Linked DNA regions of Homo sapiens: region 1 is linked to region 2. Evidence: promoter capture Hi-C in human tissues and cell types (Jung and others, 2019). All regions are on one chromosome and are shown on one strand. Each heading gives the region's core, a stretch centred on a gene start or on the middle of the fragment in contact. The rest is flanking DNA. Distances are from core to core; before and after follow the strand shown.

Region 1 (3,641 bases), core at 1,007-3,506, 47 kb before region 2:
TTTCAGTATGCCTGAGATTTTCCAGGACAGAAGAAGGAAAAAGTATGCAAGGAGAGACCATAAAAAGGTAGCCATGCCTATCTCTGGAAGGTGAGATTCCTGGCCATTTCCACTTTGATGTTAATAAAACCATCACCATTTATGAAGTGTTTGCGACGGGCCATTGCTTGACAGCTGTCATCTAATTTCAACCTCGTGACAATTTTGAAGAATAGCTTTTGTTGTCCCCTTTTCACACCTGCAAACCTGAAGGAAGAGACAGTGGGATTCACGCTCCTGTCCCTCTGAAGAGCTACGCCCTTCGATGCTTTTCTGTAAAGAATGACCATATATGACTGGAATGCAGTCAGAAAGGAGGAAGCGGCTGTCACAGTGGCTGGGCTTAGGGCAGATTCCAGGCCTCCATGGCCCTGGGTGCCAAATGGCGGGGCCACCATGGTTTCGGGGCCATCCAGGGGGCTGGTTCCCTTTCTCGGTGCTACAAGCAGGTTGTAAAGCACTTTGGAGGCCAATTGGCACCAGGACAAGGAATTGCACCCTTGAGGTGGTTCGTGACCCCATAAATTGCTCAGAGGTGGGAGGCAGCTGGGAGGCTCGGGAAAAGCACAAGCCAGGTCATTGGAGGCTGCTCCTTTCCCAAGGTGCGGCATTCCACGGGGTGATGGCCCTCGGGCCCCAGGAGAGGGAGAGGAACCTGGAGGAAAAGTGGACGCAGACAAGACCCCAGTGGAACGGGCCGGACAGCAGGCACCCCAGGACATTGTGAGTCAGGGTGGACAGGGTGCCTCCCCTGCCGGGGCCTCTCCCTGGGCACCTGCGGAGTCTCCGTAGGCCTGCAGCAAAGGGGGTTTAGGTTTCAGAGCGCACGCACATCAGAGGGACCACATCAAGCGCCTGCAGCTTCCAGGTGTGAATAAACCTATGGGGAGCGCTGGCGCTGGGCGTGGGCCCTGGGAACGGTTTAGATTCCGAGGTAACCCGATAAGCACTGGCTAACACCTGCACTCACTACCTGGAATATACAGACATATCCATCCCCATCCCCTTCCCGTGGGGAGCTGAGGCCTCCATTTCATGCTTGGGGTGCACCTACTTACTGTCTGCAATGTCCCGGCCACATCCACCATCAGAGGGGGAAGGAACCCTGTGTTTCTGAGGGAAAACTGAGGCCCAGAGAGCAAGCCTGACTCTCCGAGGCCAAGCAGAGCTGGGACCCAAGGCCTCCAGCTCGTGCCATCCTGCTGCCCCACTGCGGGCATCCATCTTCTCTGGGATTTTTGGCTTCTGAGGGGGTGCTGCCCAGGAGCTCCCGGGGACAGGGCGTGTGGCTCTCCCTGCCTCACAGAAATGTTTCAGAGGTGGAATGATATGGGCAGAATGATATGCCCATCGTGCCATATGACTCTCAGAACAACACGACAAAATTGCAGGTGCTATGATGGTCCCCATTTAGCCTTGCGTCAGGCGTTTGTCCTGGGCCAGCTCAAAGACCACACAACTGCATCCTCCATTGATTGACGGGCTGCTCTCCAAGGCGCCGGATGGGTGCTAGTGGTGGGCCTGGCTCGGAGGCATCTCCTGGACAGAGCCAGCCTGGATGCAGAACACATGCCCCTCCTGCTCCCAGGGGGTGGCCCAGCCTGTCTGTCCAGGCCAGGCCCAGGGACGTGGAGACCAGGGCAAGAGTTTCACCTGTCCAACTGCTGCACTGCACTGGCCCTGCCTGCCCATGGAGGGCACCGCAGATAAGCAGGGCAGGTACTGGGCGGTCAGAGCCATGATGGGGGTGGCACACCCTAGGGCTGAGGGCCCTGAACTGAGGGCAGCTGATGAGAGGGAGAAGTCATGGAACAGGAGCCAGGGAGCATCCTACAGCTGGAAACACAAGTGTGAGGTGTGGGACTGGGAGTCGAGGAAGCCAGAGTCAAGACTTTGAGAGAGATGGGCATCACCAGGAGGGGAAGGCTGGCAGGTGCTCTGCACTTGCAGTATCTGCAACAGAGAAAAAGATGCCCCTTGCTCTGGACATGCAGCTTGGCAGGCTGTGGGAAGATGGGCATCATCCAGGAGGGGCCCTGGCACAGGGTGTAACCTGCACAGCTGTACCAGGCTGGCCTGCCTGGGCATGTGTGTGTGTGTGTGTGTGTGTGTGTGTGCATATGGATGCGGGCTGCCCAGAGAAATGCCCCCACGTGTGCACACACTTATGCGCACTGTCTTGCACACAAGCCCAGGAGAAAGACTGCCAGAACAGTGGGACCCTGGACGTTCCCTGGGCCAGTTAAGCTCACCGAGGTTTCTCCAGCCTGATTGGTGGGGCCGGCTTGGGAACTGGGAGAGACAATGGCTCTAGAGCCCAGGAGCTTGGATTCACTCTTTCTCATGTGTAGAAAGAATGACATGCCCCTTGTGCCATATGACCCTCAGAACAACACTACAAAACTGCAGGTGCTATGACTGTCCGTGTTTTGCAGAAGAGGAGACTGAGGCTTGCAGATGTTTGCAGAGTTGCCTAGGTCCAGGCAGCAGGTAGGAGGTTGGAACGGCAACAATAGCGACTGCTGCAAGATGAGCCTCAAATCCATGAGATGGGGTTTTGAGGTCCTCCTGTGCTGGCTGTGGTATCTGCATGCCTTTCTGTACCTTGGGAGCTTATGTGCATAAAGAAAGAGTGACCAGCAGAACGCTGGCTGCAGGGGGATGCTCTGCAGGTTGCGGGCACATGAGGAGCTGTCTCCATACTGCATCCTCGGGTGTTTCCTAGTTGGCCATTTGCAGTGAGTACCTCGGGTCTGAATCACCAGGGGTCAGGTTTAAGAGCTGAGGGTCAGAGGTTACCAAGGTACCCATGCCAAGCCAGAGGGCTGACCTTTATTTGACCAAGTCGAGGGACCCCCAGGACCCCAAAGAGGGGCTTCAGGCCCCTGGCTGCCTTCTGAAATGATGCTTGGGGGTTGATCCTAATCGCCCCTAATTTAGGGGCCAAATGGTCAATTAAGGGACTATTAGAGAGTCAGAGAAGCAGAAGGTGAACTGAGGAGACAGATGAGAGGCAGCTGATGCCTCTGCCATCGGAGCTAGGCATGGGTTCTGCCGGCCAGCCCAGGCCTGGGAGGGAGGGTGGCTGCCTCCTCCCCTGGCATTGGCGGGGCTGGGCCTTGTTGTCAGCACCCCCGAGAGACCTGATGGCAACATTTCCTGAGGTCTGCCAGCAGCCAAGTGCCTGGCAACATGCCCCATTGCCATTTCTTCAGTTAATACTCAAATAAGCTAAATATCTACCAAGTGCCTCAGTCACTGGTCAAACACCAGTCTAGGTGCTGGGGACTCATCAGGGAGCGAAGTCAAGTCCCTGCCCTTGAGGAGCTGTAATTCTAGAGGACAGGGTGGGGACTGAAAAATAACTAAGCAGCTAAGTGTGCAATACATCAGGTGCTGCCGGCTTCCCAAGCTTAGTGGCTTCACACAAAACCCTAGTATTGCTCACAACTCTGTGTGCAGGAACTGGGGACTCAGCAAGGTCAGCTTGCGACCGCTCTACCTGCCCGCTGGTCTCCCTCTGAGACTTCCATCCTCAGGAGGCCGGGCTGGGTCGGAGGTCCGAGGTGGCTGCCCTCCTCCACCAGGGACCCCAGGGCTCT
Region 2 (4,052 bases), core at 462-2,961:
ACACAGGGTGAGAAGGGGACATGGCCAGCCCACAACAGCTGGTGCTCTCACCACCTGCCCTGCACCTAGCAGCCAGAGAATTCATTCCCTCCGTGTCCAGCCTCAAGCCCGCAGTTCCAACACTGAGACCTACCCCTCTGGACTAGAGAAGGGAAGGGCTCTCAATAGCGCCCTTTCCTCGGTCTGGGAGGGGCCCACTCAGGGATGGCAGGAACCTCATTGTTCCTGCCTTGGGGCTGCTTCCTTTGTCTGGGGAGGCCTGCCGGTCCCGTGACCTGGTGACCCTGCCACCCCTCCAAGACCCAGGCACAGGTGGGGCTGGAGAAGCCACGAGCCTGCTAGCCATGTCCGCTGTTCCCAACTAGGTGCCTAGCCAGACCCCTGCGGTACTCACCGAGCCATAGAGCTTGCCCTTGCTGCTCATGGCCACGAAGAACCGGCTGGCCACGCCGAAGATGCTCACCACGCCCCGCTCCACGGGCGAGAGCTCCAGCAGGCCTGGGGGCGGGGCGCAGGTCATTGCGGGGCAGGTGATCCCTGGCCCACTCCGCCCCTCGGCTTGTTCGCCTCCGGGGACCCTATTTCTGGGGTGGGGTTGGGGATAAAGGGCCAGGGTTCCCGGCGCAGCCGCCCCCAAGGGCCTCCAGAGCCCAAGCTGCCCTCTAGGGCCTCCGGAGCCCAAGCCTGCGCTAGCTCAGATTAGCTTGCCTGTGTAGGGGACCCCCGGCGGCCGCACCCAGTCCCGGACCTTCAGACGCGAGCCCGACCCCAGCGGTTCCCCAGCCTGGGCCAGGCCGGGGCGCGTGTCTCGGGCCCCCTGTGGCTGCACCGCGCGCCCTGTGCCCACGGGCGAAGGCGCTGGAATTCGGCGCTCGGAGCCCGAGTTTCTGAAGGCGGGAGGCGGCGCCCGACCTCAGGGGTTGCGCTGGGCTGCCGGAGCCAAGAGTGTCTGCGTCCCCAGCCCCGCGTCAGAAGGGACCGGAGCCCGAGTCCGCCCCGGTTCCCGGGGCCCCCGAGCAGGTGCCCGCCGAGGGTCTCAGAGTGTGACTGAGCGGGTTGGCCCGGCGGCCGTTGCCCCCCGCCCCCGCCCCTTCGCGCCTGGCCGCGCCACTCACTGTCGCGGGTGTCCGCGTGCGCGCCGCCGATGCGGCCGTCGGGGAGCGCCTGGAGGTGGAAGCCGATGCCCACGTTGCAGTAGAGCCGCCGCAGCCGCTTGATGCCCAGCAGGTAGTCGCCGGCGCCGCTCTGGACGGCCGCCTCCTTGGGCTGCGCTGCCACCGGCAGGCGCGCCAACGAGAGCGCCACCAGGCTCTCCCAGCGGCGCTCCAGCTCGGCCTCCAGCGTGCCGTTGGGTGCAGTGGGTGCGGCGGCGCCCCCTCGGCCCGCCCAGGGCGCCAGCAAGGCCAGCAGGACCGCCGGGAGCAGCGCTACCGCGGCCGTCCCGGGCCCCGACATCCCGGCCCGAGGGCCGTGCGTCGGTCAGGCGGTCAGTGCGCCCGGGAAGCTGGGGGGCAGAGCTGCGCCTGTGGCGTCCCGCGGGAGCGCACGGCCGACCTCGGGCAGGAGTGCGCAACCGAGGAGGTGCGGGAGGCAAGCGACGGGGCCCCCGGGCGCCGGGCTCTACCCCGGCTGCATGGAGCGGCGAGCCGGGCGGAAAGCGCGCGGCTGGAGCTGGGACTCTGAGGAGCAGTGCGCGCCTCCCTGAGCGCCAGGCCCGCCCGAGGCCGAGCCGCTATATATATAGCCCGGCGCCCCCTCCTACTCGCCCGCTCCCGCGGGGGGCCGTTCGCGTTCTCCTGGGCGCCCGGGGCGCTGTGGCGTTCGCGGCTGGTCGCAGGCCGCCTGCCAATCAGGGCCGGGGGAAGGGAGGAGGCTGGGGACTAGCGCCGCGAGTGCCACCTGGAGGGACCCCGGCCCCCACCCTTGGCTCCGCCCGGCCCACGGACCTGTTCGTCCCGCCCCTTGGCGGCTCCTACACTTCTGCTTTTCAGCCAGTTTTGCCTCTTGCACTTTGTCCCTGCCTGTCCCCGTCCCCGTCTCCCTCTCTGCTCCGGCCGCCTTGGCGCAGCCCTAACTCGGGCATCCGAAGCTCCTAGTGGGCGCAGAAGCCAGCGGCTGCTGCCTGCCCTTCGCCTTTCGGAGGCTCACGGGAACTTGGTTCCTTTGCTGGGGCCTTGAGGACCGGCCTGGGAAGGAGGGGTGGATAAGAGCAGTAAGCGACACCGGGGCCTGGCTGGGCAAGGGAGGACCCTTTGGCTACAGGCGGGAGGGAGGCCACCCCCACCCCCTAGGTCTTGGCCCCACAGGCTTGGCGCGTTTCTGGGCTGGAGTTCTGAATACCTGGTGGAGGTCCACCTGAGCCAAAGGGCAAGGTGGCAGAGATGCACCCAGGGAGGCCTGGTCCTGCACCCCCTACACACACACCCTTCCGTGAAAGGACAGGTAGCAGGGCATAGGGCCAGAGGGGATATTCAGCATCCCCTGCTCCTTTGATTCCACAGCAGAAATATCCATGTACCATAGCCAGAGCCCTCAATCTAGCAGGGACCCAGGCCAGGCCTCTGGAAGCCTCCCCTCTCTCACTCATGGTTCTACCTCCCACTGTGCCCATTATGGCCTGATGGGGACTGTCCTAGCTAGATGCAGGCCCACCTAGGTGTGAAAACCCCTGTTCTTTGTGGTCCCTGAGGAGCCTGCCTGGCCCTTCCTGCAGGCCCGCCTAGCCACAGCTGCAGGGGGCTTGGTGCCTACCCCATCTCTCATACCACCAGCACCTGTGACCAGAGATGTCCCCAGGCCACCGCAGCCTCCTCCACCTCCACCGCATCCCCACAGGGAGATTCCTGGGACCCCTTCAGAACCCTGCTGGGGCTTATTCGTGCCCCTGGAGGGGACCTGGGAGGCTTGAGGGCTCTTCTCTGAGGTGCAGAAAGGGGGGCACTTGGGGGTCATCAAGTGGCTTTGGCAGGACCGGAACCTCAGCTCCGCACCCCTTGAGAGGATCTTTGTTCCTCCTTGGGCCTGCAGCCTGCTTGGGCAGCGCCACCCAGACCTGGACCTTCCTGGGCTGCAGCTCACAGCTTCGAGATGCAACCCGGCTGCCTCTGGGTCCTGGGGTCCCCCAGATGAGCCTGCAGATCTGGTGCCAAATAGACATCGTTGGCCAGGGTGCAGGGTGCAGGGTGCAGGGGACCTAGAACCCATCCCTCACTTGCTGTGTTGTCTTTCCATCTCTAGGTCCCTGACTCCCCATTTGCAAAATGACATGGGAGGTGGGCTTTCCTCCCTCAGCCTGGGGCCAACCGAACACACCCTCTGGGGAAGTGAGACCCAGGCCTGGAGACCCACCTGTGCCAGCTGACCTGAGCAGAGGGACTCTGATGTCTTCCCCCGGCTTTTGATAGGATGAGGCTCCTTTCTTCCCAGGACTCCCACAGCAAGCTCAATTTAGGGCTTCCCAAGGACCCCTCCCTGTCTCTCCTATTTGCTGTGAGTTCAGCAAAGGACGCTGCAGGCAGCTGATATATCTCCCAGAACTGCAGGCCCACCCACACAGGATAGGTGCTTGTGGTGACTGGGGACTGACAGCCAGCAGGGCTTTTGGGAGCTGGGAATTCCCAGCAGAACTGATCTGGAATCTGGCTTCCACTTTGCTCCGGGTGCTCCCTGAGCACACTCTCAACCTCCGCAGGCCCTGGCCTCCTCAGCTGTGCAATGGAGGCAACAAAAGCACAGGTAAGGAAGAATTGCGGATGAAGGATGCACCAGGAAGCACTCACTTATCTGCATCTGACCCCTTTCCGTGCCCCTGGCCCTTGACCTGGCTTCCCACCTGCTTCCTTTCTGCTCCTGTGTTCCCGCCATGCTGACCGCGTCATCTCTCCCCTTCCCACTGGATGACCCCCGGCCCCAGATCTTCCTGCCAATGACTTATCCCATTCAGGTTTGCCTGAATGGAGAAGCCACTCCATTGGAGTAGCCACTCGGGGATGCCTTCTGGATCCCCTGCCCAGTCCTTCTGGTTGGAGCTTCTTTGAGCTCTTAAGAGAACC

What was found. The method cuts DNA at HindIII sites, captures the fragments that hold promoters and counts their contacts. A contact is called where the count stands out against the background at its distance.
Region 1: a fragment that was not itself captured here is called in contact with the fragment with the promoter of FGF4 in region 2 in 1 of the 25 tissues and cell types used here (neural progenitor cells).

The regions. Positions count from the first base shown.
Region 1 is chr11:69,725,853-69,729,493 of GRCh38, forward strand. No RefSeq gene overlaps it. Among named protein-coding and RNA genes, the nearest start is that of FGF19, 24 kb to the left of the region's middle. The HindIII fragment of the contact is 8,947 bases long and covers 1-3,641 here.
Region 2 is chr11:69,773,630-69,777,681 of GRCh38, forward strand. FGF4 (fibroblast growth factor 4) reads right to left here and starts at 1,712. Exons shown (of 3, transcript NM_002007.4): 1 at 1,116-1,712; 2 at 395-498. The coding sequence starts at 1,455. RefSeq lists enhancers at 1-611, 2,461-3,384 and promoters at 1,601-2,713, 1,601-1,996. The HindIII fragment of the contact is 23,973 bases long and covers 1-4,052 here.